Linked DNA regions of Homo sapiens: region 2 is linked to region 1. The links are contacts of gene promoters, found by promoter capture Hi-C in blood cells and fetal thymus (Javierre and others, 2016). All regions are on one chromosome and are shown on one strand. Each heading gives the region's core, a stretch centred on a gene start or on the middle of the fragment in contact. The rest is flanking DNA. Distances are from core to core; before and after follow the strand shown. Region 1 holds the start of ABHD12B (abhydrolase domain containing 12B). Region 2 overlaps NIN (ninein).

Evidence for each region. Contacts are between HindIII fragments. The CHiCAGO score rates a contact against its expected background, and 5 or more counts as called.
Region 2: a fragment that was not itself captured here is called in contact with the fragment with the promoter of ABHD12B in region 1 in 1 of 17 cell types (neutrophils); the score reaches 5.1 in neutrophils.

The regions. Positions count from the first base shown.
Region 1 is chr14:50,869,238-50,875,359 of GRCh38, reverse strand. ABHD12B (abhydrolase domain containing 12B) reads right to left here and starts at 3,307. Exons shown (of 13, transcript NM_001206673.2): 1 at 3,082-3,307. The coding sequence starts at 3,185. The HindIII fragment of the contact is 8,761 bases long and covers 1-3,396 here.
Region 2 is chr14:50,718,591-50,724,712 of GRCh38, reverse strand. NIN (ninein) reads left to right here. Exons shown (of 31, transcript NM_020921.4): 31 at 1,041-4,950. The coding sequence ends at 1,250. Among named protein-coding and RNA genes, the nearest start is that of SAV1, 53 kb to the right of the region's middle. The HindIII fragment of the contact is 2,079 bases long and covers 1,914-3,992 here.

The DNA of each region.
Region 1 (6,122 bases), core at 2,058-4,557:
AAGACAGGTACCTTCAACCTGTGTGCCAATTCACTCAGTCGACATGTGTTTGTCACCAAGCACCGGGAGACATCCTCCCAACCAAATCCCCTCTTCCTTCACACCCATGGAAGTATCTCTTTTTTGTCAAAGTCTCCTGGAGAGATCATTCCATGGTGACCTCTCCTCTCTTGTCTTTCCTCCCACAAATAATAACGGGGCCTCAGCTGGCCTTGAATTGTTCTGTGATGGCTTTCCCATTATTAGCCCTGTCTTCTCCACTCTATCAGGCCACAGACAACAAGAACAACATGGCATAGAATGCTTCCTTTACATTTCCCTCTGTCTAGCCCAGGGCTGAGCTCAGTAAATATTGACGCATAGGTTGAAAATAGAAAGAGAGTGCATTTATTTTGTAAGGGAGAAGGAAGCAACATTTATTGGTAGCTTCAGAGGAAAGAGGAAGGACTTCATTTTCTTTTTTTTACTTACAATTGCAAATGAATCAATGTGTGCTCCACAGAGCAAGGATTTTGTCTGTTTTATTTACTGCTGTGTGACCAAGACTAGAATACTATCCAATAGATAATAAAGAACCAACGCTGTGGAAAGAATGAACACATTTATCAGCCTACTCCTGCACATTTTCTGAGCACTATCTAGGATTGTAATGACTTGGGGTGGAATGGGGGAAATGAGGAGGAAAATAAACCTTTGGTTTCCCCCAACTTCCTTCTGGAGCACATTTTCCATTTTTCTTTTTTTATTATTATTTTTTTTTGAGACGGAGTCTCGCTCTGTCACCCAGGCTGGAGTGCAGTGGTGCGATCTCGGCTCACTCCAACCTCCGCCTCCCAGGTTCAAGCAATTCTCCTGCCTCAGCCTCCGGAGTAGCTGGGACTACGGGCATGTGCCACCACGCCTGGCTAATTTTTTGTATTTTTAGTAGAGACAGGGTTTCACTGTGTTAGCCAGGATGGTCTCCATCTCCTGACCTCATGATCTGCCCGCCTTGGCTTCCCAAAGTGCTGGGATTACAGATGTGAGCCACAATGCCTGGCCTCATTTTTCTAATTTAAAGAAAACCAGTTGTAAAGTGGAGACTTACTCTCCTTGGCCCACCCACCTTAAGCAGCAACTGGATTTGATAAAAATTTTTGTAAAATAAATAACTAGATTCCCAAGGCATTAAAAAATAGCCACTGAAAAAATCATATGATGAAATGTTCTTGGGTCTCACAACACATCCCACTAGTTCCAGTGCCATGATCAGGGCCAGGGGCATGGCAAGCCCTCCATGAAGGTTTGCTCACCTAAGTGAACCCGGCTCCAAGAATCAAAGAGGACTTGGGATAGTGGAAATGGGTCTGGGCCTCAGCCTCAGCACATCTTATGGTAGCCAATAATCTTCTGCTCAGATGAAGACATACGCTAGTATTTTGTTCTTTCAGGAAGTGTCTCTTGAGACTTTTTTCACTAATTAGTAAGGCAAGTAATAGATGGTCCCCAACTCCCTATCTCCCACTCCATTATCAACAAAGTGGGTTATTCTCTATGAGTATGATGTGCAACTTTGATTCTCTGCCTAATAAATGCCCTTTACTGCCAAATAAATGTTAAATAATCAGCCATCAATTCCACAGAGACCATCAAAGTGAAAAACATTAGATGTCAACGTTCCCAGAATCACCACATCTGGGAGAGAAGTCCTGTTAATATGCAGTTTGACAAGTGCAATCAGGACATTCTGCCACGTGTTCAGATCCAACCCAGAGCTGGGAGGCATGGGTTCTAGGTGACTGGGCCCCTGCAGAGCTGCCAGCACTCTGCTGTCTGCAATGAGAATAAAAAGGAATAGAAGAGAAAAGAGACCAGGTGCAGTGGCTCACACCTGTAATCCCAACACTTTGGGGTGCCAAGGCAGGTGGAATCTGTGAGCTCCAGGAGTTTGAGACCAACCTGAACAATGTAGTGAAAACCCATATCTACACAAAATACAAAAATCAGCTCAGTGTGGTGGCAGGTGCCTGTAGTCCCAGCTACTGGGGAGGCTGAGACGGGAGGATCGCTGGAGCCCTGGGAATGAGCCAAGATTGTGCCACTGCACTCCAGCCTGGGCAACAGAGTGAAACCCTTGTCTCAAAAAAGAAAAAAAAAAGAGAGAGAGAGAGAGAAAAGATCCCCGTTTGTCATCATCACTCTGGGCACTCCAAAGTGAGGTCTCCTGTGTCTGGATGTAATTTTTGGATATTTTCTAATCAGCACAAATTAAACAAAAGGAATAGAAAGAGGGAAGTAAAAATGCCAATACCTTCCCACACCAACAAAACTAAATGAAATACCCACGTGTCCTGGGTCCACGATCTCCAACCAATACCTGGCTTCAGTGCAAACAAGACTGACAATATGTTGCAGGTGGATTCAGGTAATTTAAGATTACTGTTTAAACCGAGGATCCATGGGAGGAAGAAAACAGAAACAAAACCCGAAACACCCACTGATACATTTCAGACTTAAACAACATAAGAACTTGGCACAGGTAATGCCAAGTTATGGTTTCAACACACTATGTACATCTTTAGCATACTGGAGGTGTTTTCTTTAAATACATGCCAGGGAGTTCACACTCAGGGAACTAGGCACGGATTTTCTGATTCTTTTCCACCTACACAGATAGGCCCTTGACCTAAGAGGATCCCGTCCAAGATTACAACATATATTACTATTGTCACTATTACTAATGTCATTCAGATCCATCTTGTATGTTAGCAAAATGGTCAGATAATAGAGATTGGTGTAGGAATTCAACCATCTCCCTGGCATCTGTATTTCAGAAGCCCCCAAAAGTTATAACTTCCTGAAATACCAAACCTGAGAGTCTCGCTGGTCCAGGTTGGGATTGAGGCTGAGGATAGCAAGGGCAACCAAAGAGCCCTAGAGTTCTCAGGGGGCCGCCGAGGTCCCCCGGAAGCCACAATGCTGGGCCTTGGGCCCGGGCCAGCAGAGGGGATTGCGGCCTCGGCCGCGCCCTGGCCCCCTGCCCCATCCCCGCGCAGCCTGAGCCGTCGGGGCCCGGCCAGGGGTGGACCGGGCGGTACTCACCGCAGGTTGCGGTCGACCATGTCCCACCAGGCGGCCACGCAGCTACGGGCTGGGGGCCCGGGCGGCTCGGGCGATGCGGCCGCCTGGCAGTCCTGCGCGTCCATCCCGCGCCGTGTCCCGATACGCCGCCACCGCCGCGGGAGCTGCAGTCCGGAGCAGCCGCCCGCGACCTTCCCGCCCCGGCGGCACCGCGCCCGCCCTCCTCCTCCGCGCGGTCAGGCAGGCTGGTACGGCGGGGGAGACGCGGCCCGAGGGTGCGCTCCGCCCGGGTCAGGCTGTTCGCGGCCACACACACACACACAGATGTCCTAAGCTTATAGCTAGCTATGCTACATTTTATTTTAAATTGATTTCCATTATACTTCTGTGTGTGTGTGGGTGTGAGGCGCGCGCAACGCAGTAAAATATGTTTTCACCATGGTACTACTAACACAAAAGTTTGACCGCCACAGCTTTTGATTTTCATGAAGAATATAAGCTTTCCTCTACTTAAACCTCACTTTTTTCTTTTTCTCTTTTTCTGAAGCCTCCTTGTCTCCAATTCCCCATCCACCCCCAAAATCCTCACAGCCCCCCACCCTGTCACCCTTACTATAGAAAGAATTTCTTTGGCTCCCTTTGATTTACTAATGATTTGTCTGTCCACGTGGGGTTATGAACACAATTACTCCATGTAGCAAAAAATTAAGACCTTTTCGGTATTTTGTTTACGTAGCAGCATGTAGCAGAACCTCATCATTGTACCAAGGAGTTCACACCTTGAAACTTTGACCTTGGTACAGGTTTACATCTTGGTGCAGGTTTACATTGTGCAACTGTCTCCTAGGAGCAGGAACTGTCTACCAGAGCTACTCTAGGGAAGCCACGGCCTGCATGTGTGGGGACAAAGGAGGAAGAAAGGGAATTAGGTTTTATTTGGATACATTCGGATGCCAGCATCAAGGCTTCATCTTGGAGGCAAGGTGCAAATCTTAAGAGGTGAAATGGGTTTTTTGTAGTGTCTGTGTTCAGAGGGCACAGCAGGGGGCTGTCAGCACCAGAAAGTGCGTGGAAACCCATCTGCTTGAGGATAGTAAGATGGTCTGGGGGAAAATACCCACACTTTTCAAGAAAGGGAAGTTTTCTTTGAGTACTAGCTCATTTCATGGAACTGTCAGGGCAAAGGGGGATTTTGTTCACTGCCTGTTAATACTCTTATACTTGCTCTGGGAATGTTTGTTTTCTTTGTTTCTTTCTCTTTCCTTCCTTCCTTTCTTTCTTTCTTTCTTTCTTTCTTTCTTTCTTTCTTTCTTTCTCTTTCTTTCTTTCTTTCTTTCTTTCTTTCTTTCTTTCTTTCTTTCTTTCTTTCTTTCTTTCTTTCTTTCTTTCTTGTCATGGTCTTACCCTGTCACTGAGGCTGGAGTGCAGTGGTGCAATCATAGCTCACTGTACTTGAACTCACTTGAACTCCTGGACTCAAGCAATCCTTCCACTCCAGCCTCCCAAGTAGCTGGGACTACAAGCATGCACCACTATGCCTGGTGCGCGCGCGCACGCACGCTTGTGTGTATAGAGATGAGATCTCACTATGTTGCCCAGGCTGCTATCAAACTCCTGGCCTCAAGCAATTCTCCCACTTCGGCCTCCCAAAGTGCTGGGATTACAGGTCTCTGTCACCACACCTGGCTGGAATGTTCAGTTTCTGATTCACACACATCAAGATAGAAGAGGAATTAGCTCAGAAAGGACCAATGGGATCCAAGCCTGACTGATGAGCCAGCAGCAGGTGGGTTTTCACAGAGCCACAACCTGCATGATGAGAAAGCTTCAAGCAGATGTCGGCTCTACCCTTGGAGTTCTTCATAAACGTGGTCTGGAATCTCCCAGAACTTGTTCAGGGAAGCTCTGGATGGGACTCTGGGGCCATGCCAAGTGGAGATGGAGGGATCAAAGATGGGGAGGAGAGCTTGGAGGAGAGAAGAACAGCTGCATATGGTCCCAGAGTCTATTTCCATCTACTTGCTCAGGTTGAGAGAGGATATTTCCATCTACTTGCTGGATGAACAAAGTTGTAAGCCCCAAGTCTAGGGATATGTTTGAAATGCTCAGCAAAAATCTCTGAAATTGGAAATCACTATGGCCCATTTTTTGAAAGGTTGCATAAGACTCTGCAAGAAGGTCTTTCCCAGTATAAATAGCCCCTTTCAAATGGCACATCCTGGAAATCAGGGAACAAAGTCTCCCATATGATTTGATAGAACCTGAAAAACAAAATATGCATTCATTTATTCAGCACCCATTTACTGAGCACCTTTTAGGTACCAGGTACCACATTGGGCACCGTAGGGATACAAATCAGGATCCCAGCTGGTAGAGATTCATTTCAGGATGAACCATGAGAACACAGAACAGGAAATGAAAAGTGTCTTAAGGGTAGAGATTAAATCAGGGGATAGCAGGGGCTGGAGGTGGGGAGGGGAGGTTGACTACAAAGGGGTGCGAAGGGACATTTTAGAGTGATGGGAATAGTCAACATCTCAAGTGTGGTGGTGGTTACTATAAATATCCACCAATGCATATAACTCACAGGTGAATTTGACTGAATATGAATTATACCTCAACAAACCTGACTTTTGAAAAGTGACCTAAGAAATGTACAGATAAACTATATAAATGAACATGTCCTATGTCATGTTGTATAAATGTTAAGACAAAGCTGATGGTACAAATACATCAGAAACCAACAGTTGAATGTTATTTGCACTAGCAGAAAAATAAATCTTGATTGGAGACAGATTAATTTGACCACCTAAAATTATTCTGGAAAAACAGGGAATGGGGAATAAGACTGACCACCTCTCAGCTGCTGTACAGCTGTGAAGGTAAACTGCTGGTAATAAGGCAGTTGGGTGTTGAAGACCTAGATATCTTGAAAAGAAAGTATGCATCCCCCTTGTGTTTTCTTTTATTTTAAATAAAGCATTATGAGACATAAAATTCACACACTATAAATTCACTATTTTAAAGTATACAACTCAGTAATTTTAGTATATTCTCAGAGT
Region 2 (6,122 bases), core at 1,704-4,203, 150 kb after region 1:
AGCATTGCCAGTTCACACTGTCCTGGGAGAAGCAGGAGGAGAGACTAGAGAGGAAGGGGGAACAGGACAGTAGGCCTCCAGTGCTGAGCCAAGAAAGAAGCTTGATTTTTATTCTGTCGGCAATGAAGAACCATCAAAGTGTTTTTTTAAGGAAAGGAAGAGAGGGAGGGAGGAAAAAAAGTTGTATTCAGGAAGTTCAACAGAAAATATGTTCTGAAATGTTATGTGATGTCTGCCAGTCATCTAGGTTCTGAGCTTGAGAGTGCTGTCATCCTTATCCCTGCCCTTTGAAATGCTAATAGGTTGTTAAGCTACTCTTTAGTTACTCTTTATTCTCATAAACCTTTATACTTTTAGATGCCCTACTTGAAATTGGGTGTAAAATGAACACTTGTAACATGGGAAGGGGGACTGGAAAATATTAACCAGAACAACAATGAAAGTATCCCAAGGCTGCTAACAAGTTTTCCCACCCCAACCTAGACCATATATTCTAACTATAAAGATTAGACTAGACAAGGCCCCATGCAAAACAAAACAAAAACAAAGACAATTCAGGAGAAGTAACTGCCCAAATCTTATCTCTGTTATAATACATGAGCTAAATTTTAAAATAATCAGTGGGTTGTAGTTACGAATGGTAAGTTCAAGTATCTGTTGTTACAAGCAGAGTTAAACAGTCCACACCTGACACCTCAGGAATTTAAGTTATAAAAGTATTTGATATTTTTAAAGAATAAATACAGAAATAATGCCTATTTAGGTAGAAAAAAAACTTTTGGTGCCATCTAATATCAATCTGTTCTATTAGTAACTGACATAAACATCTCATGCAAAGAAATAGCTTAGAAAAAGTAGATTTGTTCCAATGGTGTCCCTGATGCCAAGTCTGATGTTAAAGCTATTTTGTAAAATAAAAGAATATAATTAGACGAAGTGATTTGCCTTTATAAAACAACTGTCCTTATGTCAGACCTTAAACTGAAGGTTTAAGAAGAGTTACAGAAATGGAGTCAAGATGTTTCTGGTTCTGTTTCTAGCTCTGCAAGAACACTAAGGCAGACGCAATGGTGAAGGACTTGTATGTTGAAAATGCCCAGTTGTTGAAAGCTCTGGAAGTGACTGAACAGCGACAGAAAACAGCAGAGAAGAAAAATTACCTCCTGGAGGAGAAGATTGCCAGCCTCAGTAATATAGTTAGGAATCTGACACCAGCGCCATTGACTTCTACACCTCCTTTGAGGTCATAGCCAAACCAAAGGGTACACTCATATTTGTGCACTTTACTGAAATAGATGAACATTTCAGTAGGTTCTCAACTTAAAATTAAGCCTAACCTAAAACTGCCAGCAACACAACTGGAGTTTCCATTTATCATAATTAGTTTTTCTAAATAGACCCTTATGGGAGTTTGAAAATAAATACTCACATATTTCACTACTTAAATTATTCCCAAGATTTGAATTTATTTTAAAATTTTAATAGCCACCAAGAATGTGGACATATGAAAATTCAAGAACCTAAAAAATACCAGTTTTGAATGAGTTTTTGTGGTTTTGGTTTTTTTTTTAATTATTACAAATCTATGTGTAAAATCTAGATATTTGAAGTTTGAGATCTGATGAGAATGGTTGTTATAAACTTTATTTTAAAACCAAATTTAGGTGTTCTTACATATTTAAATACTGGAAAGTCATTATAATAGTTTTGGTTCTTTGAATTGGTAGACAATTAGTAGAGTATAATTGGTTAGGAGGCAGGGCTTATTAAGTGGTTATTAACCGCTGACATCAGACAAACCCAAATCTGTAGAATTCTAACCTTCTAACACCTGTGACAGTATTACCACTCTTCTTGTATTATAGATTTAGAACTGATTTACTCAATTGCACTCTTAACTAATGTTAAAAGCTTACTTGCTTTAAACAGCCTTTTCTTCTTTCTCTTAAAAGTTTCATTTGGGGAGCTGGTCTTCTAAGAAACGGATAAAGCCACATAATTAAAGCAGTTGAACTATAGGGAAAGCACTGAACAAACCACTTTGGAGTAAATAGCTACTCTTAGAAAAGAGGGATAAGCAGACCATGTAGGTTTTCTGTCTCTCAAATCTTAGAGTTCATAAATTTACTTGAGGTTGCCTCAAGAACTCAGGGAACAATACTGTAAACTGTCTTCCTGAACTACTGTAGGGCCTCTCTAAGAATTTGAAATGTATAAACCATGTGACCTCATTTATTTGTCTTATATATTTACAGCCATACTAGAATTTTTATTTCTACGTTTTTAGTAAATTTAATATTCTGGGGGAAAAAAGGCCTTGATTTTAGGGTTAAAAACCTGACTTATAGAAGAGTTTATTTAATATAGGTCAAAATTTTCTGTGTTTCTTATTCCTTCTATACCTCAAATCTGATTCTAAGAATTTCTTACTGTGATAATCATTGGCATGCCACCTGAGGTCAAGGAGTGCCAAATAGGACTTTCCACTCATGCTCAAGATCAAAACTTTATAGAACAGTCAACATTTTAGATTCGGTAACCTTTTTTTTCTTCCAATTATAATCTCTGCTAGCCACTTCCGCCAGCAGTTGGTGGAAGACTTACTAGGTGCAGGGCACTTTCCAAGTTCATCACAACAACCTGCTTGTTTTCATGAGACAATAATCCGAAAAGTTCGCTTTGATATATTCCTGGAGGGCCAAGCCCATCTATTTACAAAAGGTGAACAGCAAAATCAAGCACTGCTTTATGGGCAGGAACACAAGAGAAAGCAAACTGCCCAAGAAGTCATCATGTCAGAAACTCAATCTCAACAAAATAATTTCCATCAGGGAACTTCAGGGTTTCTTGGGGGCTTATGAGTCTCACCGGTCAACCCAGGAGGCCTCACTACAAGAGCCTTGACAAGGCACTGTTTTTTGTGGGACTGGGAGTTCACACTGATGAAGCAAACCTTTGAATTTTTGCACAGCTCTTGTCAGAAAGCCCTGAGTTCCCCCTGGATAAAGAGTTAATTTTAATCCTTCCCTATAATTATACTTCAAAATATTTGACATCTGCTATTATGCCTTCTTTAGATCTTTCTTCTGTGGTGCAGACATTTCTAGTAAGTGTTTGACTACTTGTATGGCATTAGCTTTCACAGAAAATTGTTTCACTTAAAACTGTGGATTGGCCTAGGCTAAGGACAAAAATAAACTAAGTACCTGTAGTGTATTTATGTGATATGTGTCAAGTTACTCAAAGTTATTGCTGTTGGAACTGAACAATAATATTTCCCAGATAGCTGGCCTTAGCATGTGATCACGGTTGTTGTATTTTTAATTTTTGTCTTTTACAGTATGAGAGGTGTAGGTTAATTTGTTTATTTCCTATAAATTTGTATTTATGTGTATATAAAATGTACAATGAATGTAAATATGACTTTCTGGAAAGTTTAGACTACATTTAGAATCTCTATTCAAAATCAAAATGCTGCTCAAATGAATTTAACCAACATCTAGGTGCTTAATTTCTCATTTTATCCCACTTATGAGATTGGGAAAAAGATCAATATGAGAAATACCATACAGATACCTTAAATGTATGCATTTGTGCAACAATTTTTGAGAAGGTGAGTGGCAATTTATAATTTAGTTGGCAATTTATAATAGAACTTATAGCTTTTAAAAGACCTTTTAAAGACATTAAATGTAAACTTAAAAATGTTTAGATCTTGTTTCAAACTTTACAATAGCATTCTTCAAAATATTAAGTTATATATTTTATAGGCATTTAGTTGCTTATTAAAAGCACTGATTTTCAAACTTTTTGATTTAAGAACAATTATTTAAGATCGTCTCAGAAGATGGGATCTTCGTTTCAAGAAAAGGGAATCAAGTTTGCCTTTGAGATAATACGTTACACTAAGAAAAGGAAAATGTGGATAGTAAAACCCACCTCTCTCATCCTATTGTACTCTCTTCTGCTTTTTAGAAGCCTGCACTTAAGCTTAGATTTGTGAAGGGAGAGTAGAAGGGGAGAAGTAGAACCACAGTGTTTTATTTATTTTTCTAAAACTCTTACTAAATCCAGATTTTTTAAACTGTTTTAAATGTGAATTCTTCCCAGAAATTTCAATGCATTGCATATTTAGCCTTCGGCATATTTTTCATGAATAGATCATGAAGTCATAGGCTTCCAAGGCATAGGAAGAGATCTTGCAGGTCTAGTATTTTAATAATGCACTATTACCCAGGGCAGATATTATGAGAAACTGTTTCTTCTCTAAGGGTTTATGGCAGACTTTGCTTTTTTAACATGTGAGAAATGAATTTTTTATTTTGTGATTTATGTGATTTCTTTTGCTGAGTGAAGGAAAGGAGAAATTGTTGCTATTGTCAGCATCTTAAAGGTATTTCCAGTCAAGGCAAGGCTAAGTGCTTTGTGATAGTATTAAGCAAGTCATGTTTTGAATGGATTACCTGTAGTGACTCATTGGAATGATATAATTATACAAGTAATGCCAAAAACCAAGTCAAAGCCTAATTAACCAAAGCACTCATTTAAAAATCATCATGTTTGGACCTATCTGGACCTCTCAGCACTGTAAAATAGTTTTGGTTTTGTGGCATATGAATAGCTGTTTAACAAATCAAAGTTAGCTTTTTGCTTCTCAGCTTTTTTGGGCAATACAAGTTAAGTTCTTAATGGGGAGACATTATCATGGCATGACTTAAGGGAACATTGGTTTGTGAAGGAAAAACAGATTATCTAAAGCCATCTCTATGTTTCTGTTCAGATAAAGATTAATGAGTTCTGTGTTTATATCAGCTTTGTATATTTCATCTTAGCCATTCTATCCTAGAAAGATTTTAATGTGAGCTTAAGATGTAAATAAATAATTTTGCAAACATGCCTTTTGTTTTCTATATACCCTGACCTTTTAATAAAGTTTCAGTGTATTTATCATTGGTCTTTAGAATGGTAGCATCAAAATATTTCACTAAACACATTCTACAAATGCAGAATCTCAGCCCGCACTCCAGACCTACTAAATCAGAATCTTCATTTTAAAGAGATTCCCCAAGTGATTTGTATAGGATTTAGAGCATTGGGACTCCATTTCTATTATAGAAGGATGACTTTTACACCAGCCAGTTTGGGGTCCCCGTATACTGTGGCAGTGCATAGTTTACCTGCAGAATCATGACTTAACCTTGGGCAAGGCCCTGTTTGTGATTTTGGGTGCTTCAAAGATGGCTTTATTTCATGTTGCCATCTTTAGGGGTGGCTCAGACTTTCTTAATTGAGCAGCTCATGAATGATGAGATATATGCAGTTGGAAACACAAAAACAACCTAAAACCATGTTAATATGCTGAACACTGAAATGTAGAATTGGAAATGTTGGCCAAACTGACCCATCTCACAAGCCTGTTTTATTTCATTTCAAAGCTTTTATACCAACCTCATACTGCCTTTATGTGGCAGGAACTACCATTATTCCCATTTTATGGATGAGAAAATGGAAGCTTAGCAAACTCAAGGCCACACTGCCAGCTAGGTCGGGAACTTGGGACTAGAGGCTCAGGTTTGTCCTGTGTTGCAACACTTCTATCAGTTCCTACTTCTGGCAGAACTATCAGTGTTGGTTCAATGGCAACCATGTACACTGCACTCTGAAGAAAGTACTGTGTAAAACATTCCTGCCATCTGTTTGTGGTGGAGTGGTAAGATTTACACAGAAAAGAAGATTAGAAAATCTACATCCATACAGAAGATAATCAAATGTTGATGGACTCTGTGCTATGAGCACCAAAATAAGATTAGTGTCAAATGGGTAAGGTCCTTAACCTAGCATTCAATATAATTCTGCACTTCATTGAGATTTGTGCAGCCTGTGTGTTTTGTAGTCTTATTTACTGTGCAAAATTATAAGAAGTAATTTTCTAACATGTACTTGATGTCCATTTTCCCCATAATAATAGTTATGTTTTGGCCATAAGACTGGAATTCTCACTTAAATTATGTGAAATGTCTATTATATAATCTCCTGATCAAAAGGTTAAATTTCACCCAGAAGTGCTTTCTATTCTTTGGTTGCTTCACTTGCAAATCAGGAGACATGGCTAGTTTTGACAG